Regions from separate parts of the Homo sapiens genome. Here regions 1, 2 and 3 are each linked to region 4. Evidence: promoter capture Hi-C in 16 types of primary human blood cells and fetal thymus (Javierre and others, 2016). All regions are on one chromosome and are shown on one strand. Each heading gives the region's core, a stretch centred on a gene start or on the middle of the fragment in contact. The rest is flanking DNA. Distances are from core to core; before and after follow the strand shown.

Region 1 (2,805 bases), core at 265-2,764, 2.2 Mb after region 4:
TAATATGCTGACCAAACAAAATTTAAAAATACAGAAGGGTGAAAAGTTAGTCCCTCTACCTCTTTTCTACTTCTCACTGTCAATATTTCCTTGTGTATTACTTAATTTGTGTATATATGCCAGCATAGAGTTTTGTTCTGTTTTTTTTTTTTTTTTTTTGAGATGGAGTTTTGCTCTTGTTGCCCAGGCTGGAGTGCAATGATGCAATCTTGGCTCACTGCAACCTCCGCCTCCCGGGTTCGAGGGATTCTCCTGCCTCAGCCTCCCGAGTAGCTGGGATTACAGGCAAGCACCACCTTGCCTGGCTAATTTTGTATTTTTTAGTAGAGACGAGTTTTCTCCATGTTGGTCAGGCTGGTCTCGAACTCCCGACCGTAGGTGATCTGCCCGCCTCGGCCTCCCAAAGTGCTGAGATTACAGGCGTGAGCCACCACGGCTGGCCGAGTTTTGTTCTTTTTACTAATTTATTTATTTATTTGAAACAGTCTTGCTCTGTCACCCAGGCTGGAGTACAATGGCACGATCCTAGTTCACTGCAGCTTCAAACTCCTGGGCTCAAGAGATCCTTCCACCTTAGTTGGTCAAGTCGCTGGGACACACCACCATGCCCAGATAATTTTTAAATTTTTATTCTTTTTATTTTTATTCTTTTTGTAAAGATGGAAGTCTCCCTATGTTACTCAGGCTGGTCTCAAACTCCTGGGCTTAAGCGATGCTCCTGCCTCCGCCTTCCAAAGCTCTGGGATAACAGACATAAGCCACCACACTCAGCCTGTTCTTTTTAAAACATAAAATAGGATCCTTGGCCAGGTGCGGTGGCTCATGCCTGTAATCCCAGCACTTTGGGAGGCCGAGATGGGCAAATCACTTGAGGTAAGGAGTTTGAGATCAGCCTGGCCAACATGGCGAAACCCGGTCTCTATTAAAAATACAATAATTAGCTGGGCATGGTGGCACACACCTGTAGTCCCAGCTACTTAGGAGGCTGAGGCAGGAGAATCGCTTGATCTCGGGAGGCGGAGGTTGCAGTGAGCCGAGATTGCACCATTGCACTCCAGCCGGGGCAACAAAGGGAGACTCTGTCCCAAAAAATAAAAATACAAAATTAAAAATAAAAATAAGATCCTTTTTCTCCCTCTGGGATTTGTTTTTAAGTGTACTTTGTCAGTAAGCAAGCATTGGTTGGAATCTCAGATAGTGACTGATGGGACAGGAAAAATAAGATGGTATTCTAACCTTCAAAAAGCTTATATTCCTTAAAATAGGAAAACAAATAGAGATCAGTTTAAGTTCAGAAGGTGTTTAAGGAAGAAAGATGTTAAATTGAGTAGGAGTGGCCAGAAGTAGAGTTGAAGATGAGATAAAACATGAATTAGGCTTACAGAGGAGTAAGATATGGAGAGATGGACAAGTGGGGTGGTGAAGAAGAGCTTGAACAAGACAGGCAGGGGTGAATCTTTTCCATACGATCCAGTGGCCCAGCGTGGCTGCCACAGATGGGGTGGCCCAGTGTGGCGGCCACACAGAGTTGGCACAGACCACTGTTTTTTTTTTTTTTTTGACCTTTATTTTGGTAAAAAGGAATTGCTTTCTAATATTTCTCTCCCCTGTCTCCTCTATTTCTGTTTTAGGAGAACTACAAGCAGATGAAAGCACTAGTAAATCAGCTCCATGAACGAGTGGAGCATATAAAACTAGGTAAACACAGCATTTATTCCACAGCTTATGCCTTTACTTAAGATGTCCTAAAATAGTTATTGCTTTTAGGAAAAATACTGGAATTAAGCTTTTGATATTTTTTTTTTTTTTTTGAGATGGAGTCTTGCTCTCTTGCCCAGGCTGGAGTGCAGTGGCGCCATCTCAGCTCACTGCAACCTCCGCCTCCTGGGTTCAAGCCATTCTCCTGCCTCAGCCTCCCAAGTTGTTGGGATTACAGGTGCCTGCCTCCATGCCTGTCTAATTTTTGTATTTTTTAAATAGAGACAAGGTTTCACCATGTTGGCCAGGCTGGTCTTGAACTACTGATGTCAAGTGATCCATCTGCCTTGGCCTCCCAAAGTGCTGCAATTATAGGCGTGAGCCACTACTCCTGGCTGAGCTTTTGACTCTTAAGACTATGCATTTGTTGGTATGCAGGCATTTAATTTTATTTTTCCTATTACTTGGCCAGTTTTTCTCTTCATAGAGTACTACCACTTTTGGGGGGAAAAGTAAAGATTCAAATTCATAAATTTTATGAATAAATAATTTATTTTTAATTTTTATTAATTTTTTTTTTAAGAGATGGGTTCTTGCTCTATTGCCAGGCTGGACTGAACCCCTGGCTCAAGCGATCCTCTCATCTTGGCCTCCCAAAGTGCTGGGATTACAGGTATGAGCCACCACACCTGGCCAGTGATTTCTTAGTAGGCATTTAATATTTCCTCCCTAAGTGCTGAATCTCAGATGGAAAGCATTCTTCATATTTGATAGACTGTTTCAGATAACTTTTATCAACAAGTATATAATACTTAAAATTGTATATAATACTTTTAATGTAAAATTTTACATTTAGGTTAGAGTAGTTTAAATACTGGATCTCAGGAGTATAAAAATAGTGAAGAAGACTGGATTTGGAAAGTATGGTCTAGAATTGCTTATTTACTAGTTTATTTAGAGACAGGGTCTCCTCACTCTGTTGCTCGGGCTGGACTCGAAGTCGGGAGCTCAAGTGATCTTCTTGCCTCAGCCTCCCAAGTAGCTGAGACTGTACCTGTGCCCCTGTACGCAGCTATGGAATTCATACTTTTGAAGCCATTTTAGATC
Region 2 (2,903 bases), core at 157-2,656, 3.0 Mb after region 4:
GTCTCCCAAAATGCCCTCTGTGTGTAGTTGTTCACGGAAACCACATAAACAGAAAATAGCTACAACAGCTAATTCTTACTAAGGTGTCAAGCGTTGTGCATAACACTGCCTAATGTGTGACATTAAACGTTTTCACCAGGTCAGCCACTTAATCTTCAGAAAACTGGTGGCCAACTCTGAGGTTTCACATTGACGTTTAATGGCTGTTCCTAAAGAAGTGCGTGCTTTTTAAAAAAATAGAGGATGGGAGGTAGGTTGGAAAGGGAAGATAAGCGGCAATGGAAAAATCGAGTGTGATTATTGCATTTTTATCAAATATGTCTGTCTGGATTATGTGGTTAGAATCACTGCAAATTTGGCTTCTATAAATACTTTAAAACTTTTTTCCAATGTTTTCATTATCAGATCCACTATGCAGGCTTTGAGTGGGCTGCCATTTAGTTCAGATATCAAAGTATTTTACAAGTAACTAATAGCATTTATTATCTACACGTGGAAAACTATAGCAAAGAAAGGTCAATCAAAAGTTGTGCTCTAGGTCATCAGATAAAATGAGATTAATACTGAAAAATTCTTCCACGAAGACCAGGGGTCCAGCTAAATGTGTGGTGGTGGGAAAAATGTTTATCTGACGTCCCTCTAAAGAAACCTCAGATGGGAGAAAAATGTCCCAGCCCCAGGAATGGACACATTTAGGTTTTTCCTTTTTTTTTTTTTTTTTTTTTTTTGAGACAGGGTCTCGCTCTGTTGCCCAGGCTGGAGTGTAGTGGCGCGATCTCTGCTCACTGCAACCTCCGCCTCCCGAGTTCAAGCGATTATCCTGCCTCAGCCCCCCGAGTAGCTGGGATTACAGGCGCGCGCCACCAGGCCCAGATAATTTCTTTGTATTTTTTAGTAGAGATGGGGTTTCGCCCTGTTGGCCAGGCTGGTCTCGAACTCCTGGCGATCCGCCCGCCTCGCGTTCCCAAAGTGCTGGGACCACAGGCGTGGGCCACCGCGCCCGGCGCACATTTGGGTTTTTCGTGGTCAGCAAAAGCACGACCACCCCAACACATAAATCTGGCGAATCATACGCAAATTCCCTCATGCTATATAACCTTCCACTGCTCTTCGTACCTTTGGACAGGAACATACTGTTATTTTAGGGAAGGAAATGGATCAGATACCTTGTCTCCTTCTTCTGCACTACCAAACACCCCAAATGGCGTCCCTAGCAATCAGATTCCAGAAACGTTTCCTCTCCTCTTGAAAGCCCACCGCTCCCTTCACCCAAAAAACAGAATAATCAGGGGCCTAATGAAGCTGTCCGGCCAACCTGCAGGAGAGAGCTGAGGAAGAACCACTTGCCGCGCCAGGAGCATCCCGCGCCGCACTATGGAGGCAGCCATCTTGGAGCGTACCAAAAGGAACAGCCAACGGGTTACGGACAGAGGAAGGGGCGGGGTTACAGCTCGACCTCTCGGGGCGCCCAGAATTGGACGAATCCCTTTTGTCGCTCTCGACGACAGGACCGACGCTCCGCCTCCTCGCCCCGGTTCCAGTAGTTGGTATGGTCCGAGACAGTATGGCTGCTGCATTTCGGCCCTCGAATCGAGTTCTCCTGCAGGCGCTGCAGATTTTGGTGTATCCTGGGGTGGGAGGCTCCGGCTCTGTCAGCTGCCGCTGCCCTCTCGGAGGTATCCGCGGCTTTAGCCTAGGGAAGGAGGGGAGGGATGGGAGAGAAGGGAGTGTTAGATCCCAGCTAGCATCTCTGTGGAGCAGCCACAGCTCCTAAGTCACTCACTGGCCTGGAGCGCACCCTCGCCCTCTAGTTGCACGTGGGTGCAGTGGTGACCACTGGGGGTCGTGGATACCCCCAGTGCCTGCAAATCGAAGGACTGCTGGGGTATTGACCTTGGGGCTGTAGTGCTCCCTCAGATGGGGCGACGTTCGTCTTCAGGAACATCCCTCCCGCCTTGGGTGACTTTTATTTATTTATTTATTTATTTTTGAGACGAAGTCTTGCTCTGTCGCCCAAGCTGGAGTGCGGTGGCGCGATCTCGGCTCACTGCAGCCTCCGCCTCCCGGGTTCAAGCGATTCTCCTGCCTCAGCTTTCCGAGTAGTTGGGACTACAGGCGTGCGCCACCACGCCCGGGTAATTTTTTGTATTTTTAGTAGAGACGGGTTTCACTATGTTGGCCAGGCTGGTTTCGAACTCCTGACCTCGTGGTCCACCCGCCTCGGCCTCCCAAAGTGCTGGGATTATAGGAGTGAGCCACCGCGCCCGGCCTTTTTCTTTTCTGCAGAGTTTGGAAGCAGAGGTCTTATGGAGTCTCAGTTCTGCTAACAATCTAAAAGACTTAACGGCACGTTTCTTCATTTTTCAAAACTATCCTCTAACATCTCTATGAAGAGAGTTAAATCTGAAGATGCTAGTGAGTGATAGTAAAAATGTTTGTCAGGCATTACTTTAATGTAGTTTACATACATTAATTCCTTTTCTCTAGACAACACCCAGCAAGAGAAGTACCATTCTTTTCTCCATTTACAGAGGAGGAACAAGGTTAAGTAATTTGCCCAAAGTCAGAGGGAACTGTTAGAGGTGGGATTTGAACACACCCAACAATAGAAACCTGCTCCTAACCACTTCACTGGACTGCCTTTCTGTAAATAAATAGCAACTTTTATTGTTACCTTGTTACTGCAGCTCACAGAACTCTGTTAGTGCGTGATTCTTCGGCCACGCTTGGTCCGTTTTATCTCATGCACAGCCAAGGATCCTAAAGAAAGGATGATGTTTCCCAAATCTACTAAGCTGTGATCAATGATTTCCATGTATCTCAAATGTATTTTGAGTCCACATCTGAGAGGCCTTAACCCCCTCATTTCACAGAGGACAAAACTGGGAGTTCCAGTGGTCATG
Region 3 (2,818 bases), core at 144-2,643, 2.2 Mb before region 4:
AACCTATGAGTTTAACAGTCCCAAAAGTGGAGATTACTTATATTATTATTCAATTTACTTATATTATTATTTACTTTTAGCCCTTCAGGAACATTTTGCACACCCTGTCTTATGTCAGGCTTTTTACTGTGAGCATTGTATTAGATTAAATTTCCGCAGCCCTTTATAGTGAGCGTGGGAGGAAAGGATTGCCCAAGCTAGCTAAGAGGTAGGCAACAACTTCCGTAAATGGCAATGTGGCATCCTTCCTTCATTCTAGTGAACCTCAGAAATGTCCCATCAGTATGACTGGGAGCATTTGTTACAGGCAGGATGGGGTAAGGGAACCTTTTGTTTGTTCCTCTGCTCGATGTGCAGCCCTGTCTTCCTCTTGTGAGCAGGATTAGCAGCAGACAAGAGTTCAACAGCCTTCATGGGTTTCCATCTTCAGACACAGATACCTATTTGATCTTGGACATATCATTAGACTCTAAGTGTTTCAACTTCTTCTACAAAAGAGAAATACTGTCTCCCCTGCTTACCTCTGAAGGGTGCTTGTGAAAGAAAGGACTATAGAGAATAACCCATAAAGGACTATAAAGAATTATTTTTATTTTATGTATTAAAAAAATTTTTTTTCTGGCTGGGCATAGTAGCTCACGCCTGTAATCTCAGCACTTTGGGAGGCTGAAACAGGCAGATTGCCTGAGTTCAGGAGTCCCAGACCAGCCTGGGCACCATGGCAAAACCCTGTCTCTACAAAAAATACAAAAATCAGCCAGGTGTGGAGGCACATGCCTGTGGTCCCAGCTAGTTGAGGGGCTGAAGCAAGAGGATTGCCTGAGCCCAGGAGGTCGAGGCTGCAGTGAGCTGAGATCGCACCATGGTACTACAGCCTGAGTGACAGAGTGAGCCCGTGTCTCTAAAAAAAAATAAATTACAAAAATAGTAATTAAAAAAATATTTTTATAGGCAGAGTTCTCACTGTGTTCCAGACTGGTCTTGAACTCCTGGCCTCAAGTGATCCTCCTGCCTCAGCCTCTTGAGTAGCTGGCATTACAGGCATAAGCCACCATGCTTGGCAAGAATTACGTGTTATTTCTAGCATAAAGCATGCGTGAATGACCAGGCTGATTTATTGTCCATATTCAGTTTGTGGTTTTAAGGAGCAGCTCCTCAGGAGGCAAAGTAAAAGGAAGAGCAAAAATAAAATATATGTAGGTAATACAGACTATATGCCAGGTACTCTTGTAAACACTTGATGTGCATTATTTATCACATATAATTTCAGAACTACTTGTTGATGTAGGTCCTTTTTTTTTTTTTTTTTTTTTTTTTTTTTGAGACGGAGTCTTGCTCTGTCGCCCAGGCTGGAGTGCAGTGACACGATCTTGGCTCACTGCTAGCTCCACCTCCCGGGTTCACATGAGGTAGGTGCTATTTTTATCCCAAATCTATAGATGAGTGCACAAAGGTTAGAGTGGTTCAGAAATACATGCAAGTTCACAGGTCAGAAAGTGGAAGTTCCAGGGCTCCTAACTCTCTCTGTCTGATCCCAGACTCACTCTTGCTTCTCAAGAAATCCCCTGGCTTGTAGTGGAAAGAATCCCAGAACCCCAGCCATATGGCAGGAAATGTGTTCAGCGCGGACTTCTCAGGCGCTCAGGTTTGCCTTCAGGCCCTCCCAGTTTGCAGTCCTCTCTGGGGATTCTTTCTGGCACTTATCTGACAACCACATTTCATAGGATGGAGAGGGTATTTGGAAGAGATGTCAGCCTTAGAAATTTAATCAGCTGGGCCAAAAGCAATCAAGATGCCATCTGGACAGGCTCTGACTTCCTGCCCAGAAGATAAAGACATCTGGACTTAGTAAATGCCAAGGACATGCTGACTTGGTCCCCAGGCCCATGGGCCACTCCTCACTTCATGCAGCTGTATTTTCTTAATTGCACAGAATCTATGGGCTCTGAGCTACTGCCGGGACCACTGAGTGCCTATTGCTGTTGACCACCAAAGTAAACACTGCAAGCTGTAGTGACTTTCCAGTGCTAAGGAGATGGAGTGACTGCAAAGGCCACAGTAAATAGGACTCTTTAATGACAGGGCAGGAGGAGGCTGCCCCAGGCCCAATTTATTGCTGATACAGAGTCTCTGAATTAGGGCACATGATGACCGCTGATCGTTAAGTAGGGCTGTGAGGAAATGTTTGTACATATGAAGAAGCTAATTAAGGTGGCTTGCCAGATATGCATACTCAATCTCTGCTTATTGAGGCTTCTTCCTCCTGTGAGGGAGGCTCTCCCCAATCACATAAGATCTCCAGCAGTCATCCTGCATGTGAGTGCCCTGGGTAGAATATGAAGGGGCTCGGGGACGAGCTTGGGAACTAGAAGTAAATGGTTAAGATTCGGCAGAGGGTTTTTATTGTGGCAATATCTGAACATTTGCACATATTTTCTAAACATCTTTCTAGAGATGACTTGAGTCTCACATACGTGTTTCTATTTTAAAGCAGAGTTTGGATCCTTCCAATAAGTGCCCAAAGCCACCAAATTTGGTATAGCTGGGACTAAAATGCTTTGCTTTTCCCCAATAACTTCCCCAGAGAAAAGTGCTACTTGCTCTAAGTAGACTCGTGAGATTTCCATTTTATAAATAACACTGATCAAAACTATTGTAAATAGTTCTCTTTCAGCTCCTGCATGGCTGGAACATATGTAAGATTTTTAGGTTTTTGAGATTTGCTAGTTTGGGGCAATTTACATTTGGGAGTTTTAATTTCAAAATAATAAAAAATACCGAGTGTTTCCCAAGTTTTCGATTCTAGCCTAAGATCTGG
Region 4 (3,059 bases), core at 560-3,059:
CCCTGGTTAATTTTTGTAGAGACGGGGTTTGGCTATGTTGCTTAGGCTAAGCTCAAACTCCTGAGCTCAAGCGATCTCCCCACCTCCACCTCCCAAAGTGCTGGGATTTACAGGCATGAGCCACCCACCTGGCCTATTTGCTTTAACTTATAAAGATTTAAAAACTGTTCATGGCCACGTGTGGTGGCTCGCGCGTGTAATCCCAGCAATTTGGGAGGAGAAGGCGGGAGGATCGCTTAAGCGCAGGAGTTCGAGACCAGCCTGGCCAACATAATGAGACTCTGTCTCAAACAAAAACAAAAACAAGAACAAAAACAAAACTGTTCATGTTAAAATTAAGCAGTCTGAAAATTACCTCTACTGACCCCTTGCGCCCTTCCCTAGAGATAACCACTGTAAACCAGTTTCCTTTCCCAAAGAAACCCTATTTATGTTTGCATGTAAATGTACATATATGTACATACTCTTTGTTATATAAATACAACACATATTCCCTTTTACATAAATGACAATACTATATACATTGTTCTTTACCTTCCCCTTCTGATACCTATTAAAATTACATTTCAAGATCATCAAATTCATAATTTTCAGCTATTCAGATTTAACATCCCTGAAATTAAACTTAAGCATAAAGATAACAGGGATAATCCAGTTCCCATACCCAGGAGAATAACGGTCACCTCAAGTCCACTATAATACACCAAGTCTGAACCCTGGACTCAACATGTTTTCAATAAAATGTTCACTTTAAAGTTTTGACAATGACTTAATAACCAGGGCACTATGTTTGATCCATGCAAAAAGATGTAAAATCTTCCGCTTAAGGAATCTAAAATTCTAAACGTTATTTGTGGGGTGGTTAATCTGCACCTCTCAGAAACAGACATGTCTTGTGCGCTGCCAACAATTTTACCTTTGGGTGAATGATGTAACTTTACTGTTCCCACAAAGAGTCTTAATTTTTCTGTACCTTGCAATAAAATCTACATGCATTAGATTTTTCCACGAATGGCCTACAATTTGATAAACACTTTCAGGACTAAACGGCTAGCAAAAATATTCGTTAAAGTCGTTATGCAGCATTTTAATTCCCTTCACTGATAACATGCACCCTGAGTATGGCTTCAAAGACCCACTCCTACGCGAGAAACGACCCGAAATGCTCTATATGCCTTCCTTTTAAGGGGCGGGGGGATCCTTTGATGTAACTCAACAAAAGCATACAGCAATTTCGTCACGTCACAAACATCTGAACTCGTTTACCGAAATCTAATCTGAGGCGTTTATCAGAAGCAAAGAAAAAATAAAATACGGCCCACGGAGGCCTAAGGAGTGAGGCATCCACCATTAATGACTCTACCGGGAAGCAGATATGGCCTTACGTTATTTCGCTAAAAATCCCAAGGCCAACCCTGCCAAAGAATCAACAACCCATTTTACAAACGAAATACCAGATTCAGAAAGACTAAGCAGGTTGCCAAGCTGGAGAGCTGGATCTGCCGACCTCTCTCCACCCCCCCCCGCCCCCCCCCGGAGCCTCAGGCCAACGGAATTAACGTTCCGCGTCCCCTCCCTCGCCTCCCGCAACGCCCGCGAGGGTCGGCTCCCGGGGCGCTGACAACCGCCTCGTGGCCCTCGGCCGGCCTCTGAAGAGGGCAGTGAGGGGCCCCCACCTGGGCGCCCGATGCCCAGAGCACTCTGCGCCCCCAGCCTGCCCCAGCCCAGTCCCTCCCGGCCGCGCGCCCTGACCGGTGAGCAGGATGTTCGGAAGCAACATGGTCCCCGCCGCGACGGCTTCGGGCGCCTCGCTCACGTGCCCTTTGCTCTACAGGGAGGAGCCGGAAGGGGCGGGCGGCAGCAAAAGCCCACGGCCCCAAAGGCCCCGAAGCCCACCGCGGCGCCCCTAGCCTGCCCCGGCGGCCCAGCCGCGGCCCACTGGTTACCTGGCTTTCGATGACACATTTCCGTCGCAAAGTTGGAGGGTGGGCATAACTCGGGTCGGTACTTCGGGTCAGGCAGTGCGCTGGATGCCTAAGTCACACACTCCTTCGGTGGTCCCCGCCCTTCGCTTGCGCCGACCAGTCTGGAAGGTCCCCGGGAGGCCGTACCTCCGAGAGGCTCGGCGTTGAGCCCGGGTAGGGCCAGGTGGCTGCCCTTTCACCTAGGGTAGTCCCTGGTCGCCTCCGCTCTTCGCCTAAAAGGGGATGCAGCTCCGGGAAAGTAAGGCCGCCGCGGTTGCGGCTATATTATGTATATGTCTTAGAGACGTGAGTCTATCTCTGCCTTCAAGCTTTCCTGGGCTCTCGTCGCTCCTCCTCCCGACCCGCCCATCCCATCTGGGGATGAGAAGATTGAGGGTGCAGAGCCCTGTCCTGCAGCGGGGATTTGCGAGCTCAACCCGGCACCCCACTGATTACAGGATTACGTTGGACGAATATTTGAGCTTAGTATTCCCTGTTCACTGTGTGGGGTGGTGGTGGGTCGGCTAGGAATAGTCTTGAAGGTCTACCTCTGACATCTCATTTCAGTAACCTCGCATCTTCAGGGACAGTTATCTGCTTTTTAAAGGAGGTAATTGTCAATCTTGTTTTCAAGAGTGAATAGAGACCTGACCGTGACAACAGTCTGCACCTTTTTTTGTTTGTTTGTTTGTTTTTGTTTTGTTTTGAGACGGAGTCTCACTCTTGTCGCCCAGGCTGGAGTGCAACCTCCGCCTCCTGGGTTCAAGTGATTCTCCTGCCTTAGCCTCCAGAGTAGCTGGGATTACAGGCGCCCACCACCACGCCCGGCTAATTTTTGCATTTTTAATAGAGACGGGGTTTCACCATGTTTTGGCCAGGCTGGTCTCAAACTCCTGACCTCAGATGATCCGCCCGCCTCGTCCTCCCACGGTGCTGGGATTACAGGCATGAGCCACCGCGTCCGGCCCCTGGTCTGCATCTTTTATTTCGAGCTACAAACTATATTTACTCAAATAGGTGTTTTTTTTCCACCTGTATACCTTTTGAAACGTCACAGTCTCTAATCGTGAACGATTTGGGGCGGAGGGCTGAACA

Evidence for each region. The method cuts DNA at HindIII sites, captures the fragments that hold promoters and counts their contacts. A CHiCAGO score of 5 or more calls a contact.
Region 1: a contact is called between a fragment that was not itself captured here and the fragment with the promoter of TAF9 in region 4, in 7 of 17 cell types (activated CD4 T cells, total CD4 T cells, non-activated CD4 T cells and 4 more). The highest score is 15.7, in activated CD4 T cells.
Region 2: a contact is called between the fragment with the promoter of MRPS27 here and the fragment with the promoter of TAF9 in region 4, in 3 of 17 cell types (total CD4 T cells, naive CD4 T cells and non-activated CD4 T cells). The highest score is 7.2, in total CD4 T cells.
Region 3: a fragment that was not itself captured here is called in contact with the fragment with the promoter of TAF9 in region 4 in 1 of 17 cell types (naive CD8 T cells); the score reaches 9.5 in naive CD8 T cells.

Annotation. Positions count from the first base shown.
Region 1 is chr5:71,591,295-71,594,099 of GRCh38, forward strand. MCCC2 (methylcrotonyl-CoA carboxylase subunit 2) reads left to right here. Exons shown (of 17, transcript NM_022132.5): 2 at 1,632-1,698. Among named protein-coding and RNA genes, the nearest start is that of MCCC2, 5.4 kb to the left of the region's middle. The HindIII fragment of the contact is 540 bases long and covers 1,245-1,784 here.
Region 2 is chr5:72,318,834-72,321,736 of GRCh38, forward strand. MRPS27 (mitochondrial ribosomal protein S27) reads right to left here and starts at 1,407. Exons shown (of 11, transcript NM_015084.3): 1 at 1,316-1,407. The coding sequence starts at 1,388. PTCD2 (pentatricopeptide repeat domain 2) reads left to right here and starts at 1,540. Exons shown (of 10, transcript NM_024754.5): 1 at 1,540-1,676. The coding sequence starts at 1,550. RefSeq lists enhancers at 458-999, 1,000-1,540, 1,139-1,468, 1,529-1,738. The HindIII fragment of the contact is 19,626 bases long and covers 1-2,903 here.
Region 3 is chr5:67,202,789-67,205,606 of GRCh38, forward strand. No RefSeq gene overlaps it. Among named protein-coding and RNA genes, the nearest start is that of CD180, 7.4 kb to the left of the region's middle. The HindIII fragment of the contact is 3,432 bases long and covers 1-2,818 here.
Region 4 is chr5:69,367,711-69,370,769 of GRCh38, forward strand. TAF9 (TATA-box binding protein associated factor 9) reads right to left here and starts at 1,810. Exons shown (of 3, transcript NM_003187.5): 1 at 1,753-1,810. AK6 (adenylate kinase 6) reads right to left here and starts at 1,810. Exons shown (of 5, transcript NM_016283.5): 1 at 1,753-1,810. The coding sequence starts at 1,780. It overlaps RAD17 (RAD17 checkpoint clamp loader component), which reads left to right and starts at 2,108. Exons shown (of 19, transcript NM_133338.3): 1 at 2,108-2,223. RefSeq lists an enhancer at 2,362-2,911. The HindIII fragment of the contact is 4,867 bases long and covers 1-2,291 here.